Linked DNA regions of Homo sapiens: region 2 is linked to region 1. The links are contacts of gene promoters, found by promoter capture Hi-C in blood cells and fetal thymus (Javierre and others, 2016). All regions are on one chromosome and are shown on one strand. Each heading gives the region's core, a stretch centred on a gene start or on the middle of the fragment in contact. The rest is flanking DNA. Distances are from core to core; before and after follow the strand shown.

Region 1 (6,640 bases), core at 2,416-4,915:
TAGTGACCTGAAATACCATTTAAATCATATACTAACATGTTCCCCATCACAAAAATAAAAATTAAGAGTAGTAACCACCTATGATGAATGCTGGCAAGGGAATTCTTGCATTGTGTGGGAGACTGAGCCAGAGGTCCATAATGATTGTTTTTTTTCCTTTTTGAAGAGACTGAATTCTGATACTTGTATCTTCTAGATAATTTGTCTTTGGTTGACATGGGTGGAATTGGGTGTGGTGCTTACAATTTTTTCAAATGGTTTTACCCATTGTTTATTAGAGAGCTAGTGTCCTGAGACCACTAATCTGAATCATCATTTGCTTTAATTATTGTGATCCAGTAACAATGACGCAAATGTTTTTATAATGGAATATTTCTGAGTTCTAAAATTAAATAAATGACTAAAGACTTTTACTGCAAGAATTTGTAGTTAATCTTATAATAAAATTGATGTTCATTATAATTCACCTCTTTTCCCAAATAATTTTAGTTTTTTCCCCTTCCAACTTTTATTTTAGGTTCAAGGGATACACGTGCAGATTTGTTACATGGTTAAACTCTGTGTTAAGGGGCTTTGGTGTAGAGACAATTTTGTCACCAAGGTAATCAGCATAATGCCTGATAGGTAGTTTTTCAATCCTCACCCTCCTCCTACCTCTGCTCTCACATAGGCCCCCAAGTCTATTGCCAAATGATTTCTCTTAATAACGTTCCTCTTCTAAATATAGTTTATCAAATGTTTTCAGTGGAAAATATTTAAAGTTTCAGATTGTGCAACAGATATTCACCCTGACCGGATATGGAAAAGACCAGCAACATTCAGGAAATTGGCAGAGATTTTGAGCTCTGCTAGGGCAGGGCAAAAAAAGCAAGGGGTGGAGCTATGCAGTGTGTGTGGGAGTTGTTTTAATTCTACCCTTGTGCTAGGTTTTCTTCCACTATAAAATGATTACAATAGAATGTTTGTTTGCTTGTGCCTATTTCTAGTCACCTTTACCACTCTGTTAGAATACTGTAATAAAAAGTAATGATGACAAGAATTTATACAAAATGGATGTTCTAATCAACAATGGCTTTCCAGGGGTTGGGGCAGGGGTCGTGGGAGTGCCCAGGATGGAGTGCAGTGGCTATTCACAGGTTTAATCATAGCTCACTACCGTCTTGAATCCCTGGGCTCAAGTGATCCTCCTGCCTCAGCCCCTGAGTAGCTGGTACTAAAGGTGCGCACCACCATGCCTGGCTTAGGATAGGTTTTTAGTACAAAACTGGTAAAGTCCTGACAGTCATAAACCTTCAAGGTTGGGGATTTGTAAATTTTATTTATAGGAGTGAAGGAATTTTGCCTTGGCTTTCAACCAAATAGTTATTGTTAGTGGGCATCTGGGTCTCTGTGCAGGATGGAATTTAGCATAAAGAATATAAATTACCTTTCCAAACTGGTATTCCACCTTTCAAATCAGTTTGTCTGTGCCGTTATTGCAGAACAGTTTCATATACCCCAGTGAATATCAGTTTATTTAAAGAGTGCAGAATTCTTTTTGCAGTACTTAAAATACTTTCAAATGGAAGGAATCAAAATTGAAAGGAAACCACAGATACTCATCTCAGGAATAACAGTCAGCTGCCAGGGATGCATAGGAACAGTATGCTGGAACGTGGCGAGGGTAGACTGTATGATCTTTTTTTCCCCCACTGATTTCTCCCGAGAAATGTATGCTCTTTTGCAGTTACCTTCCACGCTGTATGTCCGTGAGAAATACAATGAAGACGGTCTGAATAATGAACTGGTAATCTTCGATAATATGAAACGAATTTAAGAGAACATATCAAAGAGGTACATACTGTTTCAAAGAGCAAGAACTGTTATCTGAAACTCCCTGCCTCATAAAAGGCTTTCTGCAGAATGGAGATGGTCTTAAGCAAGTTTTACCATAAACAAATGCTTAGTTTCTTATTTTAAAAAATGACTAATTTTAGAAAGCTTACTCTCTCTTTTCTCTAGAAGGCTCTCAAAATAGGCTGCTGCAAAAGCTGGTATATTGTCCGGTTGCTCTCTCAGAATCTCGCGTGTCAGCCCTTCAAGAAGATTCCCAAATCCTTGTGGAATTCGGTAGTGGGTGTTGGAGAATGGAATCGACATCTTCTTGGTAAGAACTGCCTATGGAACCTAAAGATTCATTAAAGAGTACTGTCTTTAAATTTGTCTGATTTTACTTATATAATCACAACTATGCCAACAAATTATTTCTGAGACTCATACATCTGGACTTGAATTCTTTTTTCCCTAACACAACCCAAGCCCATCCATTTCTTCCAAAGAGTTTTGAAATCTCCATTGTGAATTAGTATAATACAAACACAGACCCATTCACTAGGCCAAATCATTTAAAATCCTGCAAAAAACCCATAATTTTCAATATGACTTTTTCTCTCTTTACCCTTTATATGCTCAAAAGGTAAGGGTAATTTTTGCTATCACACAGGAATTTAGAGAGAATGATTGCTAAAAAGTTAAATTCATTGTCAATTGCTGAGAAGACCTTCTTTGAGGTCTATTTTTTTTTAAAGAGTAGAAATTAGTCCTGGTTCTAGAAATTAATTTGTTGAATGAAGAAGTTGCACAATCTTTCCCCTTGCTGCCACTTCTGAAGCATGACCCACAATGCTTCGAACACCTTCGTACTGTGGAATGGGGTTGTGCGTGCGTGTGTGTGAGGGAGGGATGGGATGGGATGGGGCTGTGTGTCATGATTTTGAAATCCCAGCCTCTAAAGTTTTAGAATTCTTATATTTTTCGGTTTCTTCTTGATCAGGTTGTCTCTTTCTGTCTTGAAATACAAGGGCTAGATTAAGGGTAGCTGCTAAGCAGCGGGCTGAGCTACTACTGAGTATGAAAAGAATCCTCCGGGACCTGGCCTGTTAATGTGAGAGTGTGCGTCAATGCGGAATAGAGGCGGAGGCCGTGGTAGGGGTCCAGGTTGGGAGAACTGGACGGTTTAATGAGGCTCAGACTATGGAGGGTTCTCGTTTCATCGCTTTTTTTTTCTTTGAGAGGGGGTCTCTGGCCTCGAACTCCTGGGCTCCAGCGATGATCCCGCCTCAGCCTCCCGAGCAATTGGGATTACAGGCGCGCGCCACCACGCCTGACTCCTCTCTTTTGCTTTTTCTGAGGGAGCAGTAGATGGGGGTATCGAACCATTCTAGAGTGGTGAAAAGAGCTGGCGAGATTCTGAACCAATGTGGGCAGAGGAGGGCGGGCGGAGGGGGCAGACGGGTCTAGTCGGGGGCGGGATGTTGAGGACCTGGGATTTCAGACTCGCGCAGAATGGGCTGCCTCGGCTCCCAAACGGCCCAGGGCTCCGAGGCTGTGTCTGGGATGCTGAGAGAATAAGAGAGACGAAGGGAAAAGGCTAGGTCTTGGTATCGGAGAGGAAGTGGGGAAGCGGCCTCACCTCCTTTCTCTCCGAGCTGGTGCCGCCGGTTCCGGTTGTTTTTCTAGTTGCTGGGTAACCGTTTTTTCTTTAAAAAAAAAAAAAAACTACGGCGGCCGAGAAGGGGCGAGTACAGCCCAGTCCTGAGGTCGCGGGAGGCTGCGAGGACTGCAAAAGGGTGGAGTCGGCCTCGCCCCCGCCCAGGCCCCGCCCCTGCCGGGAACCCACTTTCCCAGTCCTAGGCGGCGGTCAGATCCTTGCAAGCATGGTCGCGCCGGGGCTTGTACTCGGGCTGGTGCTGCCATTAATCCTGTGGGCCGACAGAAGTGCAGGTGAGGCGGCCCGGCTCGGCCGGACCCCTGCCCCTCAGCCTGTGCGGGCTCCGAGACCCCGTGTCCTCTGCGGGACACGGATCCGCGCCCCTTTCTCAAGGTCGACGAAGGAACCTAGCTAGGCTAGGGGCTCGCGTCTCCGACCGAGGCCCGGTCTGCAGGAGTCTGCTGGGTTGAACCCCGGCCTCTCCACTTTCTCCACCCCCCACTTACCATCCCTGACATGCAGCCTGTGAGCAGGGAGAAAGTGCGGCTTGTCTGAGTGGGGAGGCCCAAATGTGCCCAGAAAGAGGCCTTCGGGGTCCTGGAGTAACTGCAGGGGAGCTCGGAGGGAAGGAGGCGAAGCTAGTTAGGTAATATTTGGAAACAGGTGACTGAATCTTCCAAAACATTTCAGCGCTACCCCCTCAGTGGTGCCCTTGGGGAGGGTTTGCTTCAGGCGGGGTTCCTTAGGGGAATTAAATTTTACTCGTTTAAGTGGTTATCAGGGCTAAGAAATACAACCCCCTCACTAGCTCTGACTATTTAAGGCTCAGTTTTGATTTCTGGTACCGCTTACAGATATTGGTGGTGGGAAAATGTGAGTGGCATAGGGGAGGCTGGTGGCTCCCTTTGGCTGTTGCGCAGGTCAGATCTTGCCATTCGAATACCCTAGGCTGGACACTGGGTCACAGTATGGAGAAAGCAGAAGGTGCAATCTGTCTGATAATGCAAACTAAAGTGATAATGTTGGATTTCTTCCTTTCTGTTTCAAAACACTCAAAGAGTGGACCCCAGAGATCCCTGTTAAGAAATGATAGTTGGGGTAGGAGAACAGCGTGCAGAAAAATGACTCCTGCTCTACCTGAGAGCCGGAAAAGTACCTAGATTCAGACAAACTGCAGCCCATAAATGATTGTTCAGAGTCTAACAAAAGTGCAAAATGCTAGCACTCTGTATGCCATTTCCTGACTCTTATCTCCACTCAGTGACCTTTGAGATCCATCTTATGAGGTGGGGAAAAGATATTTTATTAGGTTTTCAGTTAAAGGCTGTTTATTTTAGTGTCAGTATTTTATCTCCTCCTTTGGGTCTTATTGTTACATCACCTTCATTAACATTGATCACATTTTTCATTCATTAGTACTCTACTTGGTTGCGTATCCTGACGTTTTTCCTTTAAGTCATTCTCCCTGTGCCCATGTTTACCATGTAATGCTTGAGATGTACAAAATTATATGTAACAATGACACAATAAAATGAACACCCATGAGAGCAGTACCCAACTTAAGAACTAGAACATTGCCAGTCTATTGAGCCTGCCATTGTGCTCCTCGCCAATGCATCCGGAGCTCCTCACCAGAGGCAACCACTGCCCTCTCTTCCCCATAACACTAATTCCTGTTTTTCTACTCCAGCCCCAAATGAAGGAAAAAACTGAAGACCTAAAAAATCCAAATGTTGGCTCACACCTTTAATCCCAGCACTTTGGGAGGCTGAGGTGGGCGGATCACTTAGAGTCAGGAGTTCAAGACCAGCCTGGCCAACATGGCGAAACCCCGTCTCTACTAAAAATACAAAAAAATTGGCCAGGCGCGGTGGCTCATGCTTGTAATCCCAGCACTTTGGGAGGCCAAGGTGGGCAGATCATGAGGTCAGGAGTTCGAGACCAGCCTGGCCAACGTAGTGAAACCCCGTCTCTACTAAAGATATCAAAAAAAAAAAAAAAAAGAATTAGCCAGGTGTGGTGGCACATGCCTGTAATCTCAGCTACTCGGGAGGCTGAGGCAGGAGAACCGCTTGAACCCCAGAGGCGGAGGTTGCAGTGAGCTGAGATCGCACCACTGCACTCCAGCCTGGGTGACAGAGCAAGACTCTGTCTCAAAAAAACAAACAAACAAGAAATCAAATGGTAAATGTATGTGTCTTGTGTTTGGCACAAGGAATGACCAGCCTTGCTCTCTTTCTCATTCTCTCTCTCTTTTTTTTTGTCCATTGCACAATTCCTTGATGTTCCACTGTCTACTCTAATGAACTTAGAATTTAAACTTTACAAAGATGAGGAATATGATTTTTTCTTTGATTTGCCACAAGTATCTAATTTCGGCAAAGTGGGAATTTCAACTTTGGAATCAAGTGACTTGTTTTCTAACTTGTCATAAACTGTGTGATTTGAGACCAAAGAACATTAATGTTTGTGGTGTGTTTAGCACTGTGCCTGCCACAGGTAAAGTCTCTAGTAGAATGGAAGCTCCCTGTGGGCAAGGATTTTTGCCTGCTATTATTATTATTATTTTTTCATCGTTATATCCCCAATGCTTAAAATAGTAGGCATCAATAAATATTTGTTGAATTAACTAATGAACATGCAAGCTATTTTAAAAAATTGTTTCATCTGCTTTGGTCTCAGTTACTTGATCAGTAATATGATTATACTTCTTGATCAGTAAGTAGCGTGTTTATACTACGATTATGAAGATCCTTTCCACCTCTAAAACTCTTTAGCCCAGCACAGAGTCATCCACAAAGATGTTCACTAAGTGTATGTTGGTGAAAACAGACAGACTTGGGAAGGTATTTCCCCTAGCCTATGGACTACTGACTGCACACAAATGTGCAAGCTGCAGCCATTCCCCTACCCCCACCCTCTCTCTACTTAGCTCTTATTTATGTCTGTGGTTTTCCTTTTTTTGGTTCCATATGAAGCACCTACCCAAGACAAGGCCCTCCCACACATGTGCCTCCCCCTTCCCTCCAGCAGGCTGCCAACCTGCTTATGCAATTCTGGGGCGTTGTATTCTTTTCTTAGAGCATTTTGCTCATGGTAACCGTGCATCTCCAGCCCAGTAGGCCTTCTGGGTGATCTTTCATTGTCATGTAGGTTTCTTGATCACACTAG
Region 2 (6,640 bases), core at 2,737-5,236, 470 kb before region 1:
TGGAACCGCAAAATGTCCCTGAAACCTCCTGCTCAGGCTTTGAGGAGAAAGCTTCTGCTCAAATTTCACTGGCCAAAGCAAGCCACATGACCAGGTCTGACATCAGTATAAGCCTTTCACAGGGCAAGGCAGCAAACAATTGGGCACACTAATACCGTCTGTCACAGTCTCCTTGGTAGGTTTCATATCTTATTTTGATATCCTGGCCCTAACACAATGCTTGGCACCAAGTCAAGTACTCAGAGCATCTTCATGGACTTGAACTGATTATCAGATAATAACTTAGCCTGATACAGGAACCTAAGATCAGCAGGCGATTTGAAGAAGGCAAAGGGCCTGCTGCAGAGCTGGGAGGGCATCAACAACAGGCTCACAGCACGGGAAATAGCACCATGCTCGGAATCAAGAGGCCCGGGTTCCAATTCAGCTGTGAAAAGCCATACCCACCACCAAGGGCTCAGCCTTCAAATGAAAGGGATGACCTCAATAATCCCTGGGGCTCCTTCCAGTTCTCACTTCTTAGGAGCCTGTCATGGAACCCCTCAACCTGGGTCCCTTGGTACTCACTTGCCAATCTGCCAGCTGCCGTTAGTCACGGCATCCAGCTCTATGATTAGAAAGAAAATAAGCCCCAAAGTCACTTCATGTGCTAAAATGAATTTCTAAAAACCAAACATTCACCCATGTCAATAGAAGAAAATACAACTATACTTCAAAAATGAATATGTTTTCAACAAAAATGTTATGTGGCAAATGCTCCTTAAACCATTTTCTATTTTGAGCATGTTGCTCTGACAGAGGGATCTCCAGTTACATGAAAACTACTTATGACATTGCAGAGGGTTGTGATTACACATCTGAGTGTATCTGCACTAAGTTCAGGTTCATGGATGGAAACCATCACATCAGTTGAAACTGTCTTGCACTTAGTAGGAGTTTGGTGTTTGTTAAATGAATGAATATCTGTCTTAATTGTACCTCTTGGACACTGAAACTATCATTCCCAATCCAAATTATTCCTATTTTTCTGCTATTTTTAAAAGCTTTGAGGAAAAAGTATTAATCTAAAAGGGTTGAGAAATCCTGTAGCTAATAGGCTGATGCACTAAGAGAATTATTTAGCAGATGCCAAGTCCTGAGCCTTGTGTTCTCAGCACCAGAAGACAAAAGCTGTGATGACCCTGTTTGATTAGAGAAACTTGTGCCTTTAAGTTTCCACCCATAAATCATGGATGCCAGCCTGGGTGTTCACCACCATCAGATAATAATAGCAACATATATTAATACATAGCATTTCCTTTATGCCAGAGCCCTTCCAAGTCCTTTGCATGCATTAACTCTCATCACTATCACAGCAACCCTAGGAAATAGGTACTGTTGTCATCTCCATTTTACTGATGGGAGAATCAAGGTACAAGGAAGGTGAGTTAACCCATCTAAGGTCGCACAGTAAGTGGAGGGCCGGCTTTGAATGCAGGCAAGCTGGCTCCAGAGTCTGTGCTGAAGTCACCTCTACATTATACGGTCTGAGCAGCAGCATGCTGCCAAGGGAGTTGGAGTCATTCCTGGATATAGATGTAACCTGGAACCCGTAAGCATTTCATCACCTCTTCACCCTTAAAGACTCTTCCCACCCTGTCCTGCAGCAGCCCAGGAGACTATGATTTCTGCGCTCGAACTGAGGGTGCAAGGGGAGAGGTGAGTGTGACTTTGGCTCTCCCAAACACCAGCATGGCTCATTTTTTTAGGTGGATGCCAGTGTATCCTTATCCATCTCCAAGTTTCTGCACGCCATGCCATCCTGCCTGGCAGGGGAGGGAGGGGGTATAAGGAAAGTCACCTTTCCCTGGGACCACAAGGTCCTGTTTCTTGTGCCATAGCACTGCAATCACCAGGCAAGGCTGTTTCCCGTAAAGATCAATCAATGCTGCCCCCATCCCACGTTCCCACCCTTTCCTGCTCCTCGGCCTACAACTGCTATCGATTACAGCAGAGCAGGGAAGCAAATGCCAAAATATATCAATCAATCACCAAAGTGGTCAAGAGACTTTATTAAAACCACTATGCCTTCTTCTATTTTCCTGCCCCCCGCCCCAGCTTCCTCGGCCCAGTGGCCATTTCTTTTGGAAGGTTTCCAAGAACTTTGCAGACATGATCTGATGGCTGGTGGAATTTCCTCTATTTGGGGAAAATTTAGACCCAGAGAAGGAGCAAGAACAAGTCCCATAGTGAGAAGATGGAAACCAGGTGTGTGAAAATACGTGCAAGTGTCTGTGCAGTACATATATGAAAATGTGCAAGTATGTGTGTTTGTTTAAAGAAAAACCTAGAACTTAGTCACATTTCAGAAACATTTGGTAATTATCGCTGAAGTTTTTACAAATCAATTCCTTCTGGTCGCTTAATGTCCTTCACTAAGTGGTTTAGTTGTGAAATTTCACTTTATAATTGGGTTCATTTTAATGCAGAAAGAGGTAGATTTGCATAAGCAAATGACAAACAGTTAACAAAACCCATTAGCAGAGAGGCAGGACTCTAAAGAGCCACACACCTGGGTAGTCAGCTCAGAATCAAAGCCTGTGGCAAGGAAATCCCTGACCTCACCCAGACCAAATTCCAGGCCTCTAATGAGAGGGGAAGGAGGACACACATTTCAAGTGCCTTAACAGATTGCTTAGTCCTAGCAGACTAAGTTGCTAGGATGAGAGGAGACCCTCAGAGAGACAGTTTCATTTGCTTGTCAATGAAAAACCAAAGACTTTTCTTTCTTTTTTCTTTTTCTTTTTCTTTTCTTTTTTTTTTTTTTTTTTTTTTTTTTTTTTTTGAGATGGAGTCTCACTCTGTCACCCAGGCTGGAGTGCAATGGCGCGATCTTGGCTCACTGCAACCTCTGCCTCCCGGGTTCAAGTGATTCTTCTGCCTCAGCCTCCCCAGTAGCTGGAATTACAGGTGCCCGCCACCACGCCCAGCAAATTTTTGTGTTTTTAGTAGAGACGGGGTTTCACCATGTTGGCCAGGCTGGTCTCGAACTCCTGACCTCAGTGATCCTCCCACCTCGGCCTCCCAAAGTGCTGGGATTACAGGCATGAGCCACTACCCCCAGCCCAAAGACTTTTTTGTCTAAGGAAAGTCTGGACAAGGATTTTTTTTTAACCGGCAGTTTTATACAGCTATCTGACAACTCTTGGTCCAGATGAAAAAAGCATGGACTCAGAGTAGCGGGGGAGACAGAGAATCTGACTGCCAACTCTCATTCTGCCACGAACTAGCAAGGATCCTCATGCCTCAGTTTCCTCTTCTGTAAAAAGACAACCTAAAACTAGATTATGAGTTCTTATGTTTCCCAAACTCCTGCTGTCATCACAAGTAATTGACTCATTCATTCATTCACCCAACAGATATTTATTGCACCCTTGCTATGAGCAGGTTCTGTAGAAATTAGAGAATCATGAGGAGACAGGGTGAGGCCTCAGTGCTGGGGAACACATAGCCATAGACAAGGCCCTACCCTCGTGGAATTTATCTTCTAATGGGGTGTTATGGATTGAATTGCACCCCCCACCAAATTCATATGTTGAAACCTTAACCACTAATGTGACTGTATTTAGAGATAAGTCTTCTTTTTTTTTTTTTTTTTTTTTAAGATGGAGTTTCACTCTTGTTGCCCAGGCTGGAGTGCAATGGCGTGATCTCGGCCCACTGCAACCTCCACCTCCCTGGTTCAAGTGACTCTCCTGTCTCAGCCTCCCGAGTAGTTGGGATTACAGGCACCCGCCACCACACCCGGCTAATTTTGTGTTTTTAGTAGAGACGGGGTTTCACCAGGTTGGCCAGCCTGGTCTCAAACTCCTGACCTCAAGTGATCTGCCTGCCTCAGCCTCCCAAAGTGCTAGGATTACAGGTGTGAGCCACCGTGTCCTGCAGAGATAGGGTCTTTAAGGAAGTAATTAAGGTTAAAGTTACAAGGGTGGGGGTCTAATCCAATAGGACTGGTGTCCTTATAAAAAGAGAAAAAAACAGAGATTCCCTCCTCCTCATTCTGCCAACCTGTGCACAAAGAGGTCATGGGAGGGCATAGGGAGAAGGCAGCCACCTACAAGCCAAACAGAGAGGCTTCCCCGGAAACCAACCTTGCTAACACGTTGATCTTGAACATCCAGCCTCCAGAACTGTAAGAAAATAAATGTCTGTTGTTTAAGCCCCGCAGTCTGTGGCATTTTGCTACATAGCTGGAGCTGACAGATACAAGGGTAAGCAGGGAAGGGCACAGTGTTATGGGAGCGCAGATTAGGGCCGCCCCACCCAGGCTACAGGGGGATGGAAGGTTTTCCAGAGAACCTGCCATCCAAATATAGACCTGAAGGGAGGATTAACAGGTGCAAACAGGAGAGAGTACTCAGGGCAGGACGCCCACATGTGTGAAGACCCTGAGGGAAGAGGAGCAAGTTCTGTCAGAGGACCTGAACACGTTTCTTTATGGATGGAGCCTGGAGGGTGAGATGAAGAGGGGGTGGAATGAGGCTGAGGAGGTCGGGGGAGCCAGCGTGGCTGACATTTCATAAGCAAACACGCTGAAGATCCCAGAGAACAAGCTGCTCCACTTTTCGACACTTCGGACTCACCCCATTGATGCTTCTGATTCTGCTGGAAAAAATGCCAACTTGGGCTCTGCAGGTTCCAAGAAGTCGTGAGCTTTTCCCTGCCACCTGATTGGCTGCATCATTCCTCAGCATCACTGCGTGTGTTCCTTGTGGAAATGCTTCGCTTGTTCATCCATAAGCTCCCTCCTTACCTTTCAAAGCCTCTTCTGGGACTGCCTCTTCTGGTGCTTGCCTTCAGTTCTATAAAATTCCTTTGCTTTTCATTAATAATTGCTAGTGTTTATTGCGTTAGTTAATACTAACCATGTCCCAGGTGTTGTTTTAGGGGCTTTATGTGTATTAGCTCTTTTAATCCTCACGACAACACTATGAAGTAGATTCTATTAATTCTAGTTTATGGATGAGGAAACTGAAGCACAGAGAGATTAAATAGTCACTTGTCCAGGGCCGCTTGGCTAACAAATGGAGGAGGCAGGATTAAAACCCAGGCAGTTGGCTGGGGGCAGTGGTGCACGCCTGTGATCCCAGCACTTTGGGAGGCCGAGACTGCCTGATCTCAGAAGTTCGAGACCATCCTGGGCAACGTGGTGAAACCTCATCTCTACCAAAATACAAAAAATTAGCCAGGCGTGGTGGTGGGTGCCTGTAGTCTCAGCTACTTGGGAGGCTGAGGCAGGAGAATCGCTTGAACCTAGAAGGTGGAGGTTACAGTGAGCCAAGATTTCACCACAGCACTCCAGCCTAGGTGACAGAGGGAGGCCCTGTCTCAAAAAAAAAAAAAAAAAAAAAAACCCGGGCAGTCTAGCTTGGGTGTCTATGCTCTTAACCACTACGCTGTGCTGTCCAAAAAAAAAAAAAAAAAGATGGAAACTGAGGCTTGGCTAGGTTCTCCTGGCTAGGTGAAGCATGGGTGCCAGGACTAGAACTGAGGTCTTCCTGATCCCATGTTCTCTGCTGTTCACACTTAGCGGGGCTGCCTCTTGAGGGAAAGGAGGAGAAGCAGATGAGTTTGAGGACCACTCAGGAGGTAGACAAGCTAGGACTATCATGAGGGTAATCAAAGAATAAGGGATACAATAGGAAGCCAAGGGCAAAGCCAGGTTTCTAGGTCAACTGTGCAGCCAAACCTTCATCATCTTCTGCCACTTTATTTTATTTATTTATTTATTTATTTTGAGATGGAGTCTCGCTCTGTCACCCAGGCTGGAGTGCAGTGGTGCAATCTCGGCTTACTGCAACCTCAGCCTCCCAGGTTCAAGCAATTCTCCTGCCTCAGCCTCCTGAGTAGCTGGGACTACAGGTGCGTGCCACCACGCCCAGCTAATTTTTATGTTTTTAGTAGAGACGAGGTTTCACCATGTTAGCCAGGATGTTCTCGAGCTCCTGACCTCGTGATCCACCCGCCTCGGCCTCCCAACGTGCTGGGATTACAGGCGTGAGCCACCGCGCCCGGCCTGCCACTTTATTCTTTATTCATTCATTCTTTCGTTCATTTGACACATACTGTGTTTCAGGTGCTGGCTGGGAAAAGCAGGAATTGGGGAGCGGGTAGACACTGAGACTGGCCATGACACTCACCAGGCCTTACTCCTTCCCCTTGTCCATGGAGCTCAAGGACTTTGCATTCTAGGGGATGGGGTTGATAAATAAATTATTACAACGTGATTATAAGTATATCAATATATCTACATCTATCTGTCTACCTATCTACCTACCATCTACCTACCTATAAAAGGAGTACAAGGAAGACAGCCCATCTCTGACTAAAGAAGTCAGGGGGAGCCTCAATCTAGAGAGGGTACCACTGGAGCCAGTGCTGAAGGTTATGATGGGAATATCCTAGGAGAGTATCGGGGATCCTGGGAGCTTCCCTGGAAAGTCTGTGACTGATGCCTGAGCTCTTCAACCAGAGTCATCAAATTCAGATATTCACTCTGAAAGGAGCCTCAGAGGCCCTCTCTATCCACAGGTGAGCCGACTGAGCAGTGCCAGGCCTGGGGTGAAGCGGAATTTCAGGAAGCACCCCGTCTCCAGCCACA

Evidence for each region. The method cuts DNA at HindIII sites, captures the fragments that hold promoters and counts their contacts. A CHiCAGO score of 5 or more calls a contact.
Region 2: a fragment that was not itself captured here is called in contact with the fragment with the promoter of SIAE in region 1 in 2 of 17 cell types (naive CD8 T cells and total CD8 T cells); the score reaches 7.3 in naive CD8 T cells.

What each region holds. Positions count from the first base shown.
Region 1 is chr11:124,670,764-124,677,403 of GRCh38, reverse strand. It overlaps SIAE (sialic acid acetylesterase), which reads left to right and starts at 3,665. Exons shown (of 10, transcript NM_170601.5): 1 at 3,665-3,762. The coding sequence starts at 3,696. SPA17 (sperm autoantigenic protein 17) reads right to left here and starts at 3,500. Exons shown (of 5, transcript NM_017425.4): 1 at 3,452-3,500; 2 at 1,986-2,166. The coding sequence starts at 2,139. LOC124902780 (a long non-coding RNA gene) reads right to left here and starts at 1,979. Exons shown (of 2, transcript XR_007062933.1): 1 at 1,842-1,979; 2 at 1,299-1,738. RefSeq lists an enhancer at 3,390-3,569 and silencers at 3,479-3,637, 3,610-3,729. The HindIII fragment of the contact is 8,074 bases long and covers 1,983-6,640 here.
Region 2 is chr11:125,142,390-125,149,029 of GRCh38, reverse strand. No RefSeq gene overlaps it. Among named protein-coding and RNA genes, the nearest start is that of PKNOX2-DT, 19 kb to the left of the region's middle. The HindIII fragment of the contact is 5,881 bases long and covers 1,046-6,640 here.